2 separate regions of the Homo sapiens genome follow, and region 2 is linked to region 1. Evidence: promoter capture Hi-C in human tissues and cell types (Jung and others, 2019). All regions are on one chromosome and are shown on one strand. The core of a region is centred on a gene start or on the middle of the fragment in contact, and the rest is flanking DNA. Distances in the headings are between cores, read along the strand shown.

Region 1 (7,269 bases), core at 1,898-4,397:
GAAAAGCTACATGCCTCCCCCATATGTTGCCCAGTAATTCAGACCCTTCCATTAAACCAGCAAACCTTTTTCATTTACAATCTCATTGGACATGTTTGGTATTCCAGTGCTATGATCACTTAGCTTCAATCTTTGTACCACAGATAGGTATCGAAGATGTTATATGGCATATAGAGGCCATAACGAATTACACCCAAAGGCCCTAAATGGTAGCTGCATGAGTACCTCTTTGCTAAGCAATGAGGTCATGCTTATGAGGAAAGCTGTGTTGCAAAACTATGTGGCTTTAGATATACTCATGGCAGCACAAGGGGAACCTGTGCCACCGTAAAAACTGAATGTTGTGTGTATATTCCAGATGAATCAAAGAACATAAACTGAATTATGACCAGTATGAAAACCCAGATAAGCAACTGTCAGATCCAAAACCCTCACTAATCCATTGCTTGAGTGGTTGGTTTGGATCCTGGGGAATTTAGTGGCAGAAGCTATTGCTTATAATAGAAGGAATAATTTATGTTCTGTCCTGTTTCTGCTTACAATGTTGTTATAGTACGTGTTTGCAAATAAGTCAATATGCAACCGAAAGGGCTAAGGTAATGATTGCCCAGAGAATTGCTTTAATTGAGGAGGCAGTAATATAATAAAGCTTGACCCAGCTTCCAGGTTTGCTTTCCTTTTGTTGCTATAAATCTGGCCTAGTCCCTATATATATTTTTTCATCTCTTTTCTTTTTTCCTTTCTAGGAAAGTAAAATTCCTCACTAGGAATTTCCTTGTGGGCAAAATATGGGGGAGGCATGTAGCTTTCCATCTTGTAGCCATCTTATTTAGGAACCAAAAGCGGGAGGCAGGTTTGTGTGACCCACTTCCCAGCTTGACTTTTCCCTTTGGCTTAATGAGTCTGGGGTCCCAAGATTTAATTTCCTTTCACATTTCCCCCTTTTTTTCTTTAACATCTTTTGGAGAAAGCATTTTAAAAGGAATATGTGTTCCTGGCCTCAGTTCGCTTTTTCCTCCTTTTTTGAGCTGGTTTCTTGTCGCTAGGATGGTTTATTCCAGGAAATTCAGGTCTCACGTTACTAGGAAGGCTCATTCCTAGGAAGTCATGTTCCATGTTGCTAGGAAGGCTCATTCCTAGAAGTCATGTCCCACAAAGATTAAAAAATAAATTGGGGGAGGAAAGAGGGAAAAAGGAAGGAAAGGAGATGATTCTGAGGGCTCCAGACTTAAAGGAGAAAAGGGTCCTATCTCTTTTCTCTTAATGTTAAATGTTATTTTGTTTGTGGAATGTTCACTCTATAATATATATGTTGATTAAGTATACCATTATGCATGATTTGCAATATTGATTGACCTGTGGAGTGCCTTGAGCCTGTGTGTCCAAGACTCTGAGTGCTGAGTGAGTGGGAAGTACTAAGGAGAATTGCTTTCTTGGAAACTCCATGTAGTTCGTGGCTTTTGTGATTGAAATAGCATCAGTAAAAGTCTGGCATTGTGGAAAAACACAAATGTACGTGGACTCTGTTATTTCTGACCTTGCACTCCTCACAAGGCATGTGAAATTGGAGTCACAGATGTAGAAACCAGGCAGAAGACAGTCTGAAGAGATGATACTTGAGAATTTTCCAAATATAATAAAAGACAACAAATCACAGATCCAAGAAGCTCAGATAAACCCAAGGACTTTCTTATAAAGGAAAAGATATACTTACCATATGATCAAATAATCTCACTCTAAGGCATTTACACAAGCAAAATGAAAACCAATGTCCATACAACGATCTGTATGTGAATGTTTATAATGGTTTTATTTATATTCACTAAAATCTGGGAACAACCCAAATATCCAGCAACTGGCAAGTGAATTGTATGATATATCCATACAATGGAATTCTACTCAGTAATACAAAGGAAGAAATTATTGATACATGTAATAATATGGATGAATCTCAACTACAAAATACTAAGTGAAAAAATATCAGATCCAAAAGGATATATAGGATTCCACTTATGTGACATTCTGGAAAAGGCAAAACTAGGGACAGAACACAAATTAGTGATTGCCATGGTTTGAGTATGGGATAAGTGGACTAACTACAGAAACAAGGGAACTTTGGGGATGACAGACAATTCCATATTTGACTGTAAGTGAATGTATGTACAAAATTCAAAACTAAAAAGGATAAAACTTTATGTAAATTATACTTTAAATCAACTTTTTTTTTTAATGAGGTGATTTAAATAAATGTGTTAGGTAGCTTGATGACACGGTAAGTATGAAAGTGGTACCAGAATGGCTTGAAACTCATAAAATATTGGCAGAGTGGTTATGAGTTATTCCAAAAATCAAATAATGCATATGTTGATTCGTAAGACCCTTGTCATTTCAGAAGCTGGAAATGAAACAGTACTAATGAATTTGTGGCTTCACCACTTTTTAGCTCCACAACCAGGAGCTATATCAGGAGAGATTAGGTTAATCTCTCTAAACCTGTTTTCTTTTCTATAAAAGAGGGATCATCATACTTGCCTACAGGGTAGAGTTACCAGATAAAATACAGGACGATTGGTTAAGTGATGTGAATTTCAGGTCAACCACGAATCCTACTTTAGGACGAGTAGGTACCATATATATTTATAATTAAAAAGCGATTCGCCGTTAATCTGAAATTCAACTTTAGACGTTCTGTAATTCGTGCGTGTGTGTGTGTGCATGTGTGTGTGTGAGTGACAGAGAGAGAGAGAGAGAGAGAGAGAGAGAGAGAGAGACAGAATCAGAATCTGGCAGCCCTACAGAGAGCCCTACAGAGAGGTTATGCGAATAAATAAGACACTGGAACCGCAAGACGTTCGCCCAGAGTTTGGCATAATAAGCGCCTCAGTGGTAGCGAACGCTATTTTAACCCCAGCCTCTGATGCATTACGTCTTCCTTTATTCTTTCGCCCAATTGTTAAATGAATCAACTGTACGTGTGGCCCTTCATTCCAAGCAGGCAAAAACTCGAAGGAAGCATCCAGGTGCATTATACCAGGACCCCAATTGTTAAGCTTAGAAATTCCAAGAGCGGGCGACGTCATGACGCAAAGGCCCCGCCCCGGAAGAAGCCCTAGACGCGTAAATAAGACGCCGACCGGCGCGGCGCTAGCCTCGGGGCTTGACGGGATTGTGGCGGTCCTCTCTCCCAATTCGGAAGCTACAGCTACCTCCGGACGCTCTCAAGATGGCGACCTCTCTGGGTTCCAACACCTACAACAGGCAGAACTGGGAGGATGCGGTGAGTGTGCCTGCCGGAGGAGGATGGAAGGAGGAGGCGAAGCCGCGCACCTTGCAAGCTGGCAGGACAGGGCCTGCGGCGCGGCCGAAGGAATACCGGGGAGGAGCCAGCGCGGCGGCCTAGCTTGGCCGGAGCAGGAGGGCGGAGGGCGATCCTCCTGCGGGCTTGAAGGGAGGGGGCTTAGCCAGGGTCCCGGGACCAGCACCCTTTCCATCCCTGCCCCCTCCAGCCTATTAGAGCTGGTTTTCTTTTCTCCCGCCGCCTGCCGGAAGTGCAGACAGCGCCCCCTCCCGCGATCGGGTCGTGATGGACTTCGGGTTCCTGCCGTGCCTAGTTCCCCACCCTCGCTTCCCGCCCCCTCGCCACCCCAAGTGTCACTGAGGTGTCAGGGTCTTCGGAGGGTGGTCCTCAACCAGATTTCCCATTTTCACCAGGACTTCCCCATTCTGTGCCAGACATGTCTTGGAGAAAACCCATATATCCGAATGGTGAGTGATCGCGTGTGAAACGAGTTATTCATGTCCTGTCGATGTTGTGGTACTTGCACACTGTGAAGTGTTTCTCTTAGACAAGCAGAAAAAATGATGCTCTTTTACTAACGCGAAGTGCTGGACGACTTGCAAAGAACTGTCATGTGTATTCTCTTACGAATCCGGTAACACTCCTGTAATGTAGGGGTAATAACGATAGCTAGTATTTGTTGAGCATTTACCTAGGAAATAGGTCTGTTGACCAGAAGGTGAGAGCGTTTGTGTCTTTTCATACAATAGTAAGGAATGGAGCTGGGATTTAAGTTCACATATTCTGGCTCTAGGAATGTCAGCATGATAGGAGGAGAACCAGAACTAGAAACTAGGTTTCCTGAATCCTGGTCAAATGCCTTTTGGCCAGTGTACTTTATCTCTTTAAAGTAAGCATTCCCCCTTTGTTACAAACTAGGGTAAAATTAGAACCAGTTAACAATAATAAGGTTAGGGCTGTATTATTGTGTAGTCGTAGAGGTGTTGATATGTTAGTATGTTCACGATGTTTGAATGGTTCAAGATGTTTGAATAGTTCTGTTTAAACAGAACATTTACTATATTCCGGGCATTGGCACAGGACAAGTCTACAGTAGCTACCTTTTGACTAAACTTTGTAAAGTGGGCGGGCCACAGCTGTATCCTCTCTGATTTAGGGATTGTGGAAAGCATTAGGAATGTTAGTTCTTGGGAGTGAACTTGGGAGCCAAAAATGAACCTAAGAGTTGTGGCTGTGGAAAGACACTCACTTACCTAGCATTAGATGCATATACTCTATTTCTTTTTTCTGTAGAGACAGCATCTCGCTATGTTGCCCAGGCTAGTCTGGAACTCCTGGGCTCAAGCAATCCTTCCACCTTGGCCTCTCAAAGTGTTGGGATTACAGGCGTGAGCCACTGCCACCCAGCCCAGATCCATATACTCTTGAGATGTTATCACTTATAATATGTTGTTATAGTATGTTCCCTACCCTCTTCCCAAAAAAGGTTGGGTTTTGGGTTTTGTTGTTGCTGTTTTTCTCTCTCTAGGATGCCAGGGATTTCCAGACACATTTCTTGGGTTATGTTTAAGGAAAGAGTAGACATCTGGCTTTTTTCTTTCTGTAACTCCAGTTCTTTTCTATTTTTTTTCTATTATAGACCAAAGAAAAGTATGGGAAGGAATGCAAAGTAAGTATGTCTGTTAAAGAGTAATGATTTCTGTTTCATTTTTCTTTTCTCTACCAAATTAGCCTTCAGCTTACTAAGTTTTGAGGTCTTCCAGTAAAAATCAGTGCTATACAACTTTTTATGTATTACTGATATATTCATTGGCTGGCAACTGTTTATGTGGGAGGTAAGAAAATGAACCCTCTAATGTAGAGATTCTTACGGTGTCAGTGGATGGGCACTGGAGGAGTTTGTACACCAGGTGGTGTATGACTGTCCACTCGAGCATTTTAGCTGAGGAGGAAGGTCATTCTTGTCAGAAGCTTCTCAAAAAATTACATGACACTCCCCACTCCCCCTAAAAAAGATTAAGGTTCAGATTATTATTGGTGCTTAGCTCTAGGATGGGAAGAACTTTGACCCTTTGGCTATTTCATTTCTGTACTCTGAATTTTTGCTGGAGAAGGATGCTGAAAATTGTATTGAAACATCAAATCAACTAGATGATTGCTAAGGTCTCTTCTAAATCCTACATTCAGGGATCCTTTTTTGAATGCCCCGTTGTTATCAGATCTCCAGATTGCCCAGATCAGGACCATTGACATTCTATGGCTCTTGCTTTGTGTTCCAGATCTGTGCCAGGCCATTCACAGTGTTTCGCTGGTGCCCTGGAGTCCGCATGCGTTTCAAGAAGACTGAAGTGTGCCAAACCTGCAGTAAATTGAAGAATGTCTGTCAGACCTGCCTCTTAGACCTAGAGTATGGTATGTTTGACCTGTCCAATAAATCTGAAAGTGTGCAGGTGCCTAAAACTACAAGTCAGTCTTTTGTCTCCCACTTCGCACCCTAGCTCTGGTTCTGATTTCACTTTGGAATGTCTGCCGTGGTCTGCTTTTCCCAGGAAAAGAACCATAATTAGGCCACTCTAGAGTCCTGAACAATAGTAGGAACTTAAGGAAAAGTTGGGAATTAATCAAAAGTGGCCTAAACCTTCATCTCTGTAGCCCAAGTGAGGTAAAAGGCGTTGATCCTATGATAGATAATTTATTTGCCTTAGGCTTCTTTCTTGATCCAGAGCTTTTTTCCACCATCCCAATCAGAAGCTCACAGGGTAATTGTGCTTTATTTTATTTTATTTTTTGAGTTAGGGTCTCACTCTGACACCCAGGCTAGAGTACAGTGGTGTGATCACAGCTCACTGCAACTTCGAACTCCTGGGCTCAAGGGATCCTCTTGCCTCTGCCTCCTGGTATACCACCACACCCAGTGCACGTGTGTGTGTGTGTCACTATTTTGCCCAGGCTGGTTTTGAGCTTCTGGCCTCAAGCAGTCCTCCCACCTTGGCCTCCCAGAGCCACTATAGCCAGCCTAATTGTGCTTTAGACTTTTATTTCAATTGTGTTGTTAGAACTGATATATTGCTACTGTTTCAGAGTAACTGCTTTTGGGAGTAATTTTTTTTTTAACCATAGGTGACTGTTTTTCAGAAAGATAATTTTTCAACAAGAGTTTTTACTATTAAAGGAAAGGGAAAAATATATGAGTTTATGTATGTTAAGTTCATTAGAGTTACTCTTCTAGTCAGAGTCCTGGCCACATTTTATGTAATATTATTTATATGTTTGTTAAGGAGGCGTCTGGTCCTGGAGTACAGTGACCCTTAGATGACTGTGACTATCCAGAGGATCTGTAAGACTAACCTAGAAAGAAACCACTTTTACATTTACTTTAAATAAATCATGTTGTAATAAAAACTAGGAGCTAATTTACAGGTTGAATATGACCATGGGCACAGTTTGTTCATCTAAAAATTTTCTTTTATAATTTTTTTGTTTTTTGTTTTTGAGACAGGGTGTCACTCTGTTGCCCAGGCTGGAGTGCAGTGGCATGGTCATGGCTCACTGCAGCCTTAACCTTTCCAAGCTCAGGTGATCCACCTCAGCCTCCTGGGTAGCTAGGACTACAGGTGCATACCACCACACCCAGCTAATTTTTGTATTTTTTGTAGAAATGGGGTTTCACCACGTTGACCAGGCTGGTCTCGAACTCCTGGACTCAAGCTATCTGTCAGCTCCAGCCTTGCAAAGTGCTAGGATTACAGGCATGAGCCACCACACCCAGCCTAAAAGATTTTTTCTAAAGCATTAATTTCATCAAATTTCCTGACAGTTCAGGAATTTGGACAATTTCTTAGCATGCTGTGTAGCAGAAGTAACCTGATGGTGCTAAAGAGTTTGAATAAAAACATAGTAAAGTCTCTGGTACTAAATAGGAAAGAGGAGAAGGGAAAGATGATGTATTCTGTGTGCATGGTTAGTATGGA
Region 2 (7,269 bases), core at 2,841-5,340, 1.4 Mb after region 1:
GGATGGAAAGCTGACAGACTGAGAGGATGGATTGGTGACTGGGGTCCAGGGCACTTGGAGTTGCCAGCTTAGTTACTGGATAGTCCCTTAATTTTTTTTTTTAAGGGAATGGGAAGTGTTCCTTGAGCACTCTGAATCTTGTCATAACATGGGTTATTTGTACTGTAGTTATTTGGGTCACATTTTCTTTCCTGCTTGTCTCTGAGTTCCATGAGGACAGAGCTGGAGTATTTTCATCTTTTTATCTAATCCGAGGTCCAACTCAAATGTGTCATGACCAATAACTTATATTTTCTTTTTGGCCTTATGAAAAGGGTGATATGGTTTAGGGAGGTATTATGATTCTCTTTTACATATGAGAAAATTGAGGCTCAGAAAGGTTGGTAAACCTATGCAAGATCCCGCAATAAGGAAACAGTGACAGTAGAATTCTGACAGACTGAACACTTGGCAGTGTTGGGCTTAGACCTGTGGCTTACACTTTGAAAAAACACAACCAAATAAGGCATTTTTTTTTTTTTGAGATGGAGTCTTGCTATTGCCCAGGCTGGAGTGCAGTGGTGCGATCTCGGCTCACTGCAACCTCCACCTCCCGGGTTCAAGTGATTCTCCTCCCTCAGCCTCCCAAGTAGCTGGGACTACCGGCATGTGCCACCGTGCCCAGCTAACTTTTGTATTTTTGATAGAGATGGGGTTTTGCCATGTTGGCCAGGCTGGTCTTGAACTCCTGACCTCAAGTGATCCACCCGCTTCGGCCTCCCAAAGTGCTGGGATTACAGGCATGAGCCACCATACCTGGCCTAAACAAGGCATTTTAACAACCAAGAACAAGTGGCATCTGTGCCTTAGCCATTTTGCTTACATTTCTCCTAGCTGCCTAACGTTCACCAGGTTGCTGCTTGCATCCATGCATTCATTCGTCTATTTATTAAGTGCTAGTGTGCTTCTGAATGTTGCAGTACAAGGGGAGGGAGATATATGGATGACATAGAGCTTTAAAATTAAGAATAAGGCTCTAGGGTCAGACTTCTTATATTCACATGCTGGCTCCACCAGCATGTAAATATAAGAACTATGGGAGCTTGGACAAGTTACCTGACCTCTGTGAGCTTCCATTTCCTGAACTGTGAAAACTAGGGCAATATAACTTATCTCAGGGTTTCAGTGAAAACTAAAGGGATAATACCTAGAAAAGTGGTTAGTTAGCACCAGGACTGGCTATCTAATTTAAAGGGCAAAAGGAAAAGCAGAACTCCTTGTTCAAATATGATTAAGAAGGCAATAGTAGAGCATTAAACCAAGAACAGGGCCCTTCTAAGCATGGGGCCCTGTGTGACTGCACAGGTTGCATGCCTGTGAAGCTGGCCATGGCTGACACAGTGCCTGACATATGGTGAGTGCTTGATAAATGTTAATTATTAATTACCCCCAGCCACTCCTCTGAGAGTTCATCTGTTGGTGAGAAAAGACACTTAACCCCAAAATAACTGCATAAGAAAGAGTATGACAGACACTGAAGACATAGTTGGAGAGTTAGGTGACATTTCAGGATCCACGTTTTAAAAAAGAACACTGAAAAGTAATTTCCTCTTCAGTGGAAAGAACACAGGCTTGTGAGTCAGACATTTCTGATATAGCTAATAATAGCCACTTTTTTTTTTTAATAGATGGGGTCTTGCTATTTGCTTAGGCTGGAGTGCAGTGGCAATTCACAGGCGTGATCATAGTGCACTACAGTCTCAAACTCCTGGGCTCAAGCGGTCCTCCTGCCTCAGCCTCCTGAGTAGCTGGGACTACAGGCGAGTACCACCATGCCTGGCTAATGAGAGCCACTATTGACTGAGCATTTCTTATTTCTCAGACACTATGCAAGATGCCTACTATATATTATCTTATTAAATCTTCCCAACAATCTTGGGAGAAAAGTAACAATTGTTAGTCCCATTTCACAGATAAGGAAAACAAGAATCAGAGCAATCAAGTGACTTTCCCAAGGTCACCCAGCTGGTCATTAGAGGCATGGCTCAAACCTAGCCCTATCTGGATCTGGGCTTATAACCCCTAAGTCCTACGCTCTGCCACTAATCAGTGGGTGATTACTGGTCAGGTTATTTTTCCTGCTGTGGTCTCCAGCTACCTCAGAGGGTGATAAAGTTTGAGTGAGGCTAAAGTCTGTAAAACCTTAGGTGGGTTAAAATATGTAACCCCTATAGCAAAGTGGCCACGGTTATTCTGGGATTTTCCTTCTTTCCTCTTGAGCTAAGCACTGGCACTTAAGAGTTAAGTGGTTTTATCTTTATTGGAAGGAAATGTGTTAAAGACAGACTCACTACAGTGTTGAGACAGTAGTGAGTAGCACAGTAAGGAGACTGCCCAGGACTTGAGGTCCTTGGTCCCTCTATAGAAGTATCAAGTGTTTGTAAAAGGTTTAGCACCCATGTGACAGAAAGAAGCCATCATCCTCTTAATTTCTCTTGGTTTTACTTAATATATAGAAGGGCAAACTAGTGGGCCTCTGAGTGCAAGATGAGGACTTCATTAGAATAAAGACATATTGCCTCCTGGATTTCTAACCCATAGCTCCAAGAGCCTCAGTGTCAGAACATAGGTAAGGGACTTGATTTACTGAGAGACCCTACCCTACAACATCCTGTGGACATTAGAGCTCTGTGCTCCTGTCACTGAGTATCACTGTGAGCTTAAAATATGTCAGCTGCTCCATTTCTCTTTCCTTTTGTGTATTCAGAGCTCTGATTTTAAAACACTGAAATCTGGAAGATTCCAGTAGCTGCACTCTGTCTAAAGCATATGAGGAATGACTGTAGAATTTGCATGTCCTCTATAGCTTTTGTTCACATGTATGCAGGCAGGGATAATGTTATTGATTGTTCAACCTATTTACCTTGACCAGGGGTTGTTAGTAATGCCCAATATGAATCAAGTTGGCACAAGTGTGATCAGATGATCAGGTCTTGTCTCTTTACACTGCACCACCAATGCTTCAGCACTGCCTCCCTTTGCCTTAAGGACTGGGAGTGCGATGCTGTGAATGGGATGGAAGGGGTTATTCACATGTGCTTTCATTACTTCTTCCCTTCCTCAGAAGGGAAGGCAAAGACATCTATAAAACCTTTACAGCTGTGCAGACTTCTGTATCCCTCCATCCTCATTTCCACCCTTTGTAAAGTCATAAGGATGCTCTCCATTTCCCTCTTCCCTTCTACTTGTTCCCTCCCCATATCCCCTAAAATCATGCAGACAATAAAGGCTGGTATTTTGGGTGCCCTGGAGAACGAGGGCTACTTCCTAGTCTTCTCTTGGTGTCTCCTTGTGAAAAAAGCATTTCTTCCTCAGGTGGACAAGCTGGTATTTCCTTTGGAATGAAATCCTCATCCTCTTCCTAGGTCTTCTTCATTTCCCATTCCTGAAGCACAGAAAGAGAAGACAAATCAATTTGCTGAATGGTCTAGTGTGACATGGATAAAGAGATTTCACGGCACCTAGTTAGATGAAGATCTCCACTAGCCAGGTTGCGTTGGGTTCTAACCCCCTCTCTCTCTTTCTGTGGCCCTGAGTAAGTCACTTCTCCATGCTGGTATCTCTTGTCCCTTCATCCATTCTCAACATAGTTGCCTGAATGGTCTTTAAAAAATGTAATTTATATCCAAAACCCTTTGCTCAAAACCTTCCATCATGTCACAACAAGATCCATTATGTTAGAACAAGATCCATGGTTCCTCAGTGGCCTGAAAGGCTTTAGATGAAAGGCTGGTAAATGATAGTCTGTGGGCCAAGTCTGGCCTATTGTCCATTCTCATATAATCCATCAGCTCCTATTTCTAAATGTTTGGAAAAAAAAATCAAAAGAAGACGACTATCTCATGACACATGAAAATGATACGAAATTCAAATTTCAGTGCCTGTAAATAAGTTTTATTGGGCTAGGTGCCGTGGCTCATGCCTGTAATCCCAGCACTTTGGGAGGCCGAGGTGGGCGGATCACGAGGTCAGGAGTTCGAGACCAACCTGACCAACATGGTGAAACCCCCCGTCTCTACTAAAAATACAAAAAAATTAGCCGAGTGTGGTGTTGTGCACCTGTAATCCCAGCTACACAGGAGGCTAAGGCAGGAGAATTGCTTGAACCTGGGAGGTGGAGGTTGCAGTGGTTGCAGTGAGCCAAGATCATACCACTGCACTCCAGCCTGGGTGACAGAGCGAGACTCCGTCTCAAAAAAAAAAAAAAAAAAAAGCTTTATTGGGACACAGCCATTTTCATCATCATTTTCATATTGTCCATGGCTATTTTCATGCGACAATGGCAGAGTTGAGAGGCTGTGGAACAGATCATATGGTTCAGAAAGCCTAAACTATTTACTCTCTGGCCCTTTACAGAAAAAGTTTGCTGACTGCTGCTCTAGATGATCTGGCCCCTCACTGGTTACTTCTCTGATCTCATCTCCTAATGCTCACTCTTTGTTCCTTTCACTGGAATCACCTGGATCTTCTTGATGTTCCTCAAACATGCCAAGCTTTTTCCCACTTCAGGGACTTGACACTTGCTCTTCTCTCTGCCTGGTTCGTCCTTCCCTCAGCCCCCTGCATGGGTTTCTCCCTCACACTCCATTCAGGTCTCTGCCTATGTGTCACCTTCTTGAAAGGGTCTTTGCTATCACTGTGCTTAAGCCCCTTTGGGACGTTCATCTTCTCTGGCATCACATTCTTTATTTATGTGTGGTATTTAAAGTCTTGTCTTCCCAACTCTATGAGACCAGGGACTTTTTTGGGTTCCCTGTTATGTAACCAGAAACTAGAACAAGACTGGCATATGGTAGGTCTTCAACAAATATTTGTTTAATGACTAACTGTAGGAAAGAATAAAGACTCTTCCCTCTTAGGCTCTGAAATTCAATTCCAACCTGAGGATGCAGCTCCAGCCTAGACATAGAGCCATGCTTTTTTTGAGACAGGGTCTCACTTAGTGTCATCTAGGCTGGAGTGCAGTGGTGTGATCAGGGCTCACTGTAGCCTCACCCCTCCCACTGGGCTCAAGTGATCCTCCCACCTCAGCCTATGGAGTAGCTGGGACTATAGGCATGTGCCACCACACCCGGCTAATTTTTTTGTAGTTTTTGTAGACACAGGGTTTCGCCATGTTGCCCAGGCTGATCTCGAACTCCTGGGTTCAAGGATCCTCCCACCTCAGCCACCCAAAGTGCTAGGATTACAGGTGTGAGCCACTGTGCCTGGCCAAGCCATGCATTTTAAAAGTCCGTGCTGGTGTGATCCTAGACAAAATGTTGCCGATTCCCACAGCAGTGTTGATATGAAGCTAATAAACAGCTGTCCTTTAAATGTATTCTAATATGATATGCAATTTCAGCTCATAAATGATCAGGCACTGCCTGCCTCTTCCCCCTTCATGGTTTCCACGCTCGCTTTCCCTCTTTGCTCCAGCTGCTCTGGCCTCCATCTGGCCATCAGGCACGCTTGAGAGCTTTTGCACCTGCTGTCCCCTCTTGCTGGAAAGCTTCTGCTCTAGATCTTCTCATGTTCCTTTCCCATCATTTGGGTCACTGCTAGGAGAGGCCCTCTCTGACCACTGTGTATATTGCTCCAACCCTACTCCCAGTCTCTGTCCCTTTCTATATATATGTATATATATATGTATATATTTGTAGTTGTATCACTTTCTGGAATTATCTTCTTACATTAACAGGGCACTTATGTATTATCTGTCTCCTTTCACTGGCTTGGAAGTTCCTTGAAAACCAGGACCTCATCTGTCTTGTTCACTGGTTTATCTACCACTTAAACTTCAGTCTTCTCCGCTGTGAAATGGGGCTAAGAATGCCCACTTTACTTGGTTATTGCAAAGATGGAATGAAGGAACATGTTCAAGAGTGTTTAGTGAAGTGTCAAGCATTTAGCAGGTGCTTAATATGTGTTTCTTGAATGAACGAAATTGGAGTTTTCCACTACTTTAAATAGGGTGTTCCCCCTTTTATTATGTTTCTAATTTGAACTATTTTTTTGATTTGACATATTGTGAAATGATTATCACAGTCAAGTTTAGTTAACACATCTCACCTCACCTAGTTATCATTTGTGTGTGTGTGTGTGGTGAGAACAGTAAAAAGTGACTTTTTAAAACAAATTTCGAGTATGCAATATGGTATTGTTAACTGTAGCCATGATTCTGTACATTAGATCCCCAGAACTTAGTCTTCTTAAAACTGAAACTTTGTATCCTTTGACCAACATCTCCCCAGTTCCCCCAGCCCTCAGCCTCTGGCAACCACCATTCCATTCTCCCCCTTTTATTTTAAATTAATAAAGATTAATTTTATATTTTCATATTTAAAAAAGAGATTGTTCCTTGAAAACTCATCAGTCTCCACATTTCTTAGCTTGGAATTTAGGTCCTTCTATATCAAACTGTCTTTCCAGTCTCATCTCCTACCAGTTTTTCAGACATTCTGTGCTGCTGCCAGACAGGTCTAGAAAGGCTTCCTGAGCATATCTGATGTGCCTGGCATTTGTTTTTCAGGTCCTGCTATGATTGGAATGTCTGTCCCTCCAAAACTGATGTTGAAATTTAATCCCTAATGTGGCAGTATTGAGAGGTGCAGCCTTTAAGAGGTGATTGGGTCATGAGGGCTCTATCTTCATGAATATGGATTAATCCGTTCATGGATAAAGGCATTAATGAGTTAATGCATTAATGGGTTATCATGGGAGTGGAACTGGTGGCTTTATAAAAAGAGGAAGAGAGACCTGAGCTAACATGTTCAGCCCCCTCACCCTGTGATGCCCTGGGCCGCCTCCAGACTGCAGAGAGACCCCATCAGCAAGAAGGCCCTTGCCAGATATGGCCCGTCAACCTGAGACTTCTCGGCCTCCCAAACTCTTAAGAAATACATTCTGTTTCTTTATAAATGATCCAGGTTCAGGTATTCTGTTATAAGCAGCAAAAAATGGACCAGGACAGGTCCACACTTTTATCTGCAATTCTGAAATCCAGAAAGCTGTGAAACCAAAATATTTCTCCATTGTTTTGGTATAGACTCATTTGGTGGCAAAACTTGACCTGACCTGATATGACTGTTTATAATCTTTATTCACTCCATGTGCTATATATATTCCTATGTCTTGCCGTAGAATTATTAACATGTTTGCTTACATGGTACCACCTGAGGACATATTGAGGTTTTCATCATGTGTTAGTGTAGGTACCATATTACCTTTATAAAATCCAAAAAGTTCTGA

Evidence for each region. The method cuts DNA at HindIII sites, captures the fragments that hold promoters and counts their contacts. A contact is called where the count stands out against the background at its distance.
Region 2: a fragment that was not itself captured here is called in contact with the fragment with the promoter of RBM22 in region 1 in 1 of the 25 tissues and cell types used here (pancreas).

Annotation. Positions count from the first base shown.
Region 1 is chr5:150,696,940-150,704,208 of GRCh38, reverse strand. It overlaps RBM22 (RNA binding motif protein 22), which reads left to right and starts at 3,147. Exons shown (of 11, transcript NM_018047.3): 1 at 3,147-3,277; 2 at 3,712-3,765; 3 at 4,938-4,967; 4 at 5,578-5,710. The coding sequence starts at 3,224. RefSeq lists enhancers at 2,352-3,128, 3,129-3,905. The HindIII fragment of the contact is 5,081 bases long and covers 1,851-6,931 here.
Region 2 is chr5:149,336,162-149,343,430 of GRCh38, reverse strand. AFAP1L1 (actin filament associated protein 1 like 1) reads right to left here. Exons shown (of 19, transcript NM_152406.4): 19 at 1-3,424. The coding sequence ends at 3,401. Among named protein-coding and RNA genes, the nearest start is that of GRPEL2, 5.7 kb to the left of the region's middle. The HindIII fragment of the contact is 4,849 bases long and covers 1,666-6,514 here.